Regions from separate parts of the Homo sapiens genome. Here region 2 is linked to region 1. Evidence: promoter capture Hi-C in human tissues and cell types (Jung and others, 2019). All regions are on one chromosome and are shown on one strand. The core of a region is centred on a gene start or on the middle of the fragment in contact, and the rest is flanking DNA. Distances in the headings are between cores, read along the strand shown.

Region 1 (4,140 bases), core at 1,566-4,065:
ACTTCATTTAAAAAAACCCTTTTAGATAACTGTGTATACAAAAGAAAAATATTTTCAACAAATGTGATCAAAGATTCATATTTTTATTCTATAAAGAGCTTGTATAAATGGTTAAGAGATATAATGGTATAATGATTATATTGCCACAATTTCAAAACAAAAATGGAGACGAACTAACATACAAAGAGGAAAAATAGCTAACAGACAAAAATTATATTCCATTAGTATTTGAGTAATTGCAAATGGAAACATTTTTAAACTACCAAATTTGTAACATTAAAAAAATTATAGGTGGGGCACAGTGGCTCACGCCTGTAATCCCAGTACTTTGGGAGGCTGAGGAGGGCGGATCATTAAGGGTAGCAGTTGGAGACCAGCCTGGCCAACATGGTGAAACCCAGTCTCTACTAAAAATAAAAAAATTAGCCGGGCGTGGTGGTGGGTGACCGTAATCCCAGCTACTCGGGAAGCTGAGGCAGGAGAATCGCTTGAACTTGGGAGGCAGAGGTTGCAGTGAGCCGAGATCGCGCCATTGCACTCCAGCCTGGGCAACAGAGCGAGACTCCGTCTCAAAAAAAAAAAAAAATTATAGAGTACAGTGAAAACTACATTTCTCCTGGTATAATGTAAATCAGCACAGTTTTTCTGGACAATAACTATCAAAAACCTTTAAAATGTTCAGCCTTTTAAACTCAGGCATATAGGTTTTGGTGGGAATCTGTACTGAAGAAATAATTAGAAAAGTAGATTTTTTAAGTTGGGCACAAAGATGATTGCTTCAAAGCTATTTATGATAGCAAGAAACTAGAAACAGTTTAAATGCAAAGCAATAAGGGAATGCAATCAATGAGTAGTTTCTTAGGCACTTCTGTATATTCACCGATTAGCACAGGGTATCTGGGCCACACTAATGATATAAATAATAACAGCTGATATTTATGTGCTAGGCACAGTTTTAAGCATTTTAATGTTCACAACAACCCAATAAAGTACTGTACTATTACTTGTATTTATACAGATGAGGGAACTAATTCCAGAACTTGTACTCTTAACCATTATATTGGGTATTCAATAAATGTTTCTGGAATAAATTGAATGCTGATTATGTTTACGAATGTTAATGAAAACACATAAAATTCAAAATTTATATTTAGTTATGCCTTGATACAAACTGTATACATAACTTGCTCTCAATTATAGGAGAACAGCTCAAAAATTCACAAGAAAAAATGTTAACCATGTTTTTTATCCCCTGCTTTTAACTTCTCATACATTCCACAATTTCTGCAATGAATATGAATTACTTTACAAGAAGAAAATGAAGTGCCTGTAATAAACACACCCAGTAGGCAATGCTGAGTGGCACCTTTGACATTGCTGCCACTACTTTAGGTAAAAGGATCTCTATTAAATATCGATCCTGTTGCTCAACTTTACAGTAAGAGCTGATGTAGTCAACACCATCACATCCTCAAAAGCACCACCTAGGAGGATAACTTTGCTTATCTCAATGTTTTTGAGCTAGTTTCTCACGCATTTTAGTGAAAAGAAAACCTAGTAAGTAGTCTGGTCCCACTTGATCCAGAACCAGGAAAATGGCACCAGGATCACAGTGGGAAGCTCTCACTTTGCCCACTTCAAATGGAAACAGGACGCTGTAAGTGGGAAAAGTAAAACATGAACTTGGAGGAACAAGAGGACTACAGACACTCGAAACAGGAACCTCGGAGAAAAGAAATAGGAGACACCGGTATATAGGAGTTTAGGCCAAAGGTTGAGTATTACAAAACCAAACAAAGATGACACCCGAAAAGTTTTAAGTGTGTATGTACTTAAACCCTTTAGAAACAGAGGGGCAGTAAGGACCTGAAGGGAGGAGACAGCAAGGGGACTGTTGGGACACTTCAGTTAGAGAAGTAGGAAACAAGATACTAGGTCGAAATGGTTCATTCGGGGGAGTGTGCTAAAGGCAGCTAGGACAACAAAAATCTGCTGTACAGTTTTAAAACTCAGGAGTCAATATTCTAGGTCATCCTGGCCCTGTTTACACACAGACACAAACACTGGTTTCCAGCGGGAACAATCAGTCATATATTGGAGGCGCTAAAATCAGTCGGGTGGGATATAAACGGAATAGGTCAGAGGGGAGGACTTAAAAGAGGGAGTCCCCAGGCCCACTGGGACCTAGATATAGATGCAACCCCAGATATGGGGATGGAGGGGATGGGAGGGGAGTGGTTCCCAGCCTGGAGAGAAGGTTCAGTCATTGGGCCTGGAGTCGGGAGTGTCGGGGCAGTGGGAGCAGGTATCTGGGGGTGATCCCAAAGAACTGAGGGTGGTGGAGGCTGCTGTGGCTTCCCAGCAAGAAGCCAAATCACAGGGGTCGCTGTCACCCGCGATCGCGGCACGTTCCCGGCCTGGGCTGCCGTACCCTCCAAGGTGACTGTGTCCAGCTCTCGCTGGGAGTGCTCAGCCGCTGCCGCCGCCGTCTTGCCGTCTGCCTCCCCCGTCGACCCGCCACCCGTCGCTGCCTCCTCTTTCATCTCCACATCCTGGGGGGCCGGCGGCGGTGGGGGTTCTTGTTCTCCTCCGCCGGGCGGCGGTTTCGCCTTGTCCGCGCCGCGGCGCCGCGCCGAGCCCTCCTGCTTCATGGCACCCGGGGTCACGGCCTAGTCCGGGGACCGAGGCCGGGGCCTCGCGTTAACCCTCGCACCGGGGACCAGGAGCCGAGCCGGGCCTGCACACGAGCGCGAGATAGCGTCGGGCCGCACGATGACGGAGCAGCTGCAAACCCCTTCCCGGCGCTGGGCCTTCTGGGAAACGCCAGGCCCGGCAGGCCGATGGCCGAGTCAACAAAGGGGAAATAAATCCACAGCCGAGGTGCAGGATGAAGGAGGAGCTTCGAGGAAGGAGCGGGGAGGAGCCTTTATGGGTTCGTGGGGCTTTCTTTCGAGCGCTTAAGTGTGATGCTTTTATGTTCCTCTCGAGTGCATTTCTGTGGGCGTCCACGAGAGGTCCCCTCAGGCTCCAATCTGGGTTACAAAGGACTTTAAGAGCGCCTCAACCAGCGTGGAGTGGGTACAGCCTATCCGAGCGCGGGACGAGATGACGTCACGAGTTGCCGGGCGGGTTTTGCGCCCAAGTTCGCTCAATTTTCCCCGGTCGCGGCGGGGTCTCCTTCCAGATCCGCTGGGCTTGTGCTCAACGGCTGCCGGGCGCATCCGGCAGGAGGGAAGGAAAGAAGGCTGTGAAGGAGGGACGTGAAGCTAGGGCTGTTGGCCTTAAAATAAACCGAACTGGAGAGTAGGAAGAACCCTATGGGATCCGGACTTCCTTGGTTAGATTTGAGTTTAGTGCTGAACATAAGGCATACAATTTCTGCAGGCTGGGAGTGCCGATAGGTAGGAGCGTGCATTTGCGTAGAATCACTCCAGTTTAACAAAATATAGGGGTCCACCCTATGTACGGCCCACGGTTAGCAAATAGGGGGGTGAAAAACAGCTCAAGAATGTAGTATACGGGGGAGTCAGATGGTTAGATAAGCAGACACTGTGCTCTGGGCTGCGGTGGATTGGGAGTGTTGAGGAAAGAGGGTGGGAGCCCCTACTGGCAGACGCTTTAGGGAGCCCATTGAGAGGGCTTTTATACATCCAGACAGACATTGTGAAATGGGGAACAGAATAATGGTGTGCCTAAGGAGAGAATGATGGTTTACTTAGTGGTGTACCTAAGGGGAAGCAAATTGGACAAGAAACCCTACCCACTTATTTTTCAAAGGACTGCCCCACTGGTTCTGCAGGGAAGGTGAAACAAGGTGAAGGATATAGCTCCCAATTTCTTAGAACACACAACAAAAACTCTCTCCCTACCTTGAAACTTTTCTCTCTCCCATAAGTGGAAGTCCTGAGTTTTAGACCTTTCACGGACCCTACAAGACAATCTAGCCCTGTTGTAAGGACCTAGAAGGCAGGAAATATGTTTTGACCTCCTCCTTTGCATATATAAAGGGTATCCTGCATATCTTTTGCATCCTCTTTCATAGGATTGCAGGATGTTCCTTGCGTTAAACAGCCACTCGCTAACTGGAAAGATATGTGCTCTAGTTTTAGGGAACATGCCTTGACCAGTTCCTCCTCAACT
Region 2 (3,675 bases), core at 1,010-3,509, 94 kb before region 1:
TATACCCTGGGAGGAAGGAAAGGATGGAGGAAGGCAGGCATGGCTTGGAGTCCCAGCAGAGAGGCTCTCACACTTTTCCCCATCCCTCAACTTTTTGTTTCTGACCCCTCTCCTAGCCCAGCCTCCCTGGTAGAATCCTAGAGAGACACGAGGTGAACCTGTCCATCTCTGCCCTAAGAGTATGAAGAATCTCAGTTCTTCTGACTGCCCATTCAGGGCTTTCTTCTTGATCTATCTACAAGGCAGAGGATGGTGGAGAGGGAAAAATAAACGTCAGCTGCTCACTGGGGATAATACAGCCCCTCAGTCCTTCAGCTCAGGCCCTGATTCTGGTAGGGCCTCAGATGAGGGTATTAGGGGAAGAGGGAAGAGGCCGTCCTGACCTAATCCACCCTCAAAAGCTGGGCACATCCCACATTACCTTTCTCACCCCCAGACAAGTCCATCCCAAGCCCTCTAGGAGGCTCCCCCCAGGGAACACATGAATTACTGTTCCACATCCAGGTCCAGAGGAGCCCTGGCTGGGTTTGGTGGGGTTGGGGACGTGGAGAAGGGGCACGCACAGCCAGCCTCACCTGACATGCTGGTTTTCAGGGAACATTGGCCGTTCTTTCTTTTTCGCTTTCCATCTGGTGACCTGGCACTGGATGGAGGCAAAGTGGGCAGAATCACAGAGCAGTCTTCGAGTAGCCCCTTTCTCATCCGAGAGGCTTATGCAATCCCCCAAGGCCTGATTCTTTCCATTTTGTGTCCTCATTCTACCTCCCACCCCCCAGGGTCAGCTGACAATGCTTAAAAGGGTCCAGTTATCTGGAAGTTGCAGGGGAGAGAGATAAGGGGCTTGGCTGTGGCACAAGCATATTCTAGAGCCCCAACACACACACATTCACCCGCCAGAAGACCTGAAGCACCCATAATCTGCAGGACATCCTCATCTTTCAGTACATGACGAATACGCTGGAAGAATTCTCAGGATATGCTTAAAGCTATGTAGCCTTTAGAACACACACATACATATGCAACATAACACCGGCACAGATGAATAACCATGCAACCTTCACTATAAACCCATGGATGGTGAGTATGCACCAGGGCCAACATACCTGTGAAATTTTCAGGGCATTCTTAAATGTGCTATACAACCTCTAGGATATGCCCATGTGTTACACAACACTCTGCACAGGCACCTCATAAAACCACCCTCATCCCTCCAGTGTGCACGTGTTGCTTGAGCTCCAGGTCATACACACATGCTAAATAACCCACAGCAATAGAAAACACTACACCCTCTGCACAGCCTCCATTTAACAGAGCAGCAAACTGAGACCCTGCTTGTGCCTGGTGACACCATGAGCTAGAGTCAGAGCCGGGACTGAGCCCCTCTGTGCAGCGTATTATTAGCAACCCTCAGCCACTGCACATATATGTTGCCAGGCTCTCCACATACATGTTGCATAACCTCGGTGCACACAGGTTACATAAGCCCTCTACATGCATGCAAGGATTGTATAACCTCCCGCACCCACCCTGCGTGTGGCATGTTGCAGGCCCCTTCCTCCTGGAGCCGGATGCAGCTCCCAACACACTGACACAGTGACCTTGGCCAGGGTCACAGTCACAGACAACCCTATGCTCCACGCCCCGTGGGGATTACTCCGGTCTACTTCCTATGAGGCTGAAAGGTCAGGTCTCCCTCACGCCTCCCAGAGGGTTGGGTGCAGGGGAACTCAGCCCACCTAGGCCCCAGTTGAGCTAGCGGCTTCAGCAGTTACCACCAGACTCACAGCCTCTGAGTGTAGTCCTAGAGATAGCCACAAGGTGGCGCATAGACATGGGGGAGGGGAAGGTGATGGGGGAGGGGTTGCAGTCTTAGGAGACTGGGAACTGGCATTCCTGCCTTTCTCCAAACATTAAGCACAGACTCTTCCAGACCCACAGAAGCCTAAGCTGGGAGACACAGGGGCTGCAAGTGACAGCCACACAGCGACAGGCCAGATCGTCCTCAGAGTCCTTCCTGGGGTGAGGCTTTGGGGGAGGGGAGCTACCCCATGCCCTGCCCAGCTGTGAGTTCCATCTACTTCCTCTACCCTCCAGGGACCCAGTTGTGGGCCTTAGGGCTTTGCCTGGCCAGGCCTCTGGCTTCCTGGCTCGGGATCTGATCTCCTAGGCAACAGTCAGCCACACTGCTCCCCGGAGCACCCCCACCCCCACCCTCTCCCTGGCCATAGGCACAGGCTGTACCCAGCTCCCAGGGCACCGTGCCAACTGGGACAAAGCTCTGTGCCACTTGGAGCTGATAGAAAAGACAGAGACCCTCTGGGCTCCTCAAGGGCAATGCAGATCACAGGTAACCATCCCTTGGTGTATGTGCAGGGCTGACACCTCACCCATGTGGAAGCAAAACCATCATGGTTGGCGTGCACTTTCTGGGAGGAGCCCCATCGCAGTGCCCGCCCTTGACCATGAACAAGGAAGAGCTTGTGGGGCTCCCAATAGATTCCGAATATAAGCTTGGGCTATGACCAATAGTTACTGGTGCATGTGCCCTGAAATGTATTACGTGAACCGCAGCTTGTGGACAACACACTTGTGGTCAGATAGTAAATGGGCTGGTAGGGAGAGGAAGAAAATGGCAAGGCTGTTTGGATCCCACATGCTCAAGGTAAGGGCAGCAATGGTGGAAGGGACGTTGGGGGCATCTGAGACTGCCCAGCAATGTCTAGGGAAGAGCCCCTTATGTGCTCCCTGTAATTGCTCTGTATCGCTCCCCGCTTCAAAATGAGCATCTCTCAATCCAAGTGCCTGTCACATCTGAACATGACTTCATCTGCCAGACAAAGGTAGGCAGAAGGCTTGCTGGCCTCACGTCCATCCCACAGAGGTGCTTAAAGGCGGTGCCTAAAGGAGAGCTCAGCCAGGTGCCCATGCCTGCTGCTTAGGAGTTGGCATGACCTAGTTGCTGAACCCATTACCTGTTCTCCTCTGGGTCTGACCCACACTCCACCTTGCTTGGCTTCTGTTCCATTCACTTCAATTCCATCCAGGATGCCCTCCAGCACGCCAAGAGACTGGGGTGGGCACACTGGCCCCCCCGGCACACCCACAGGCCACCCACCCCCTGCCACCCAGGCCCTAGGGCACAGCACCCATGATACCCGCCTCAGCACTTGGCCTTTCACACCATGCCCTGCGCCCCAAGGGGGGCGGGCGGTGGGAGGGGCCAGGGAGTGGCAGGTGGGAGGGCTGGGGGCAAGCTGGGTTTGTGGGTCCCGGGCTGTGTGCTGGGGGAGTAGCTTCGGAGTCTTGTCCTGTCCAGAGATCCCTGTGGAGAGAAGAGAGAGGCAGGGGTAAGAAGGTGTCACGGTAGGAAGGTGGGTAGGATCCCTTTGGTGGCAACATTTGGGGCTTTGGGATCCCATAACAAGACAGCAGGGGGCAGGAAGGGCAGGCATAGAGAGGGGACCAGGATGATCCCTTAGATAACAGGTACAGCAGGCGAGATTGGAGATCCACCTCCTAAGCCCCAGACATGGGAAGGAATGGAGGGAGAGAATGAGATCATTCATGTACTAAGTAATATGTCTCAGTCTTCATATTCAGACAAATGCCTGGCCCTTAATGAGCAACTATTAAACACTAGCTATTGTTACCACCCCTCTAGAAAAGCTTTCCTGA

Evidence for each region. Contacts are between HindIII fragments. The study calls those that stand out against the background at their distance.
Region 2: a contact is called between a fragment that was not itself captured here and the fragment with the promoter of PSMD3 in region 1, in 10 of the 25 tissues and cell types used here (H1 embryonic stem cells, IMR-90 fibroblasts, aorta and 7 more).

The regions. Positions count from the first base shown.
Region 1 is chr17:39,979,482-39,983,621 of GRCh38, reverse strand. It overlaps PSMD3 (proteasome 26S subunit, non-ATPase 3), which reads right to left and starts at 2,815. Exons shown (of 12, transcript NM_002809.4): 1 at 2,432-2,815. The coding sequence starts at 2,651. RefSeq lists a silencer at 2,475-2,524 and enhancers at 1,927-2,904, 2,705-2,984, 3,205-3,384, 3,806-4,140. The HindIII fragment of the contact is 7,545 bases long and covers 1-4,140 here.
Region 2 is chr17:40,073,839-40,077,513 of GRCh38, reverse strand. THRA (thyroid hormone receptor alpha) reads right to left here. Exons shown (of 9, transcript NM_199334.5): 2 at 2,973-3,322; 3 at 576-643; 4 at 1-6. The coding sequence starts at 3,025. Among named protein-coding and RNA genes, the nearest start is that of THRA, 13 kb to the right of the region's middle. RefSeq lists enhancers at 1,672-1,751, 1,875-2,730. The HindIII fragment of the contact is 5,644 bases long and covers 1-3,675 here.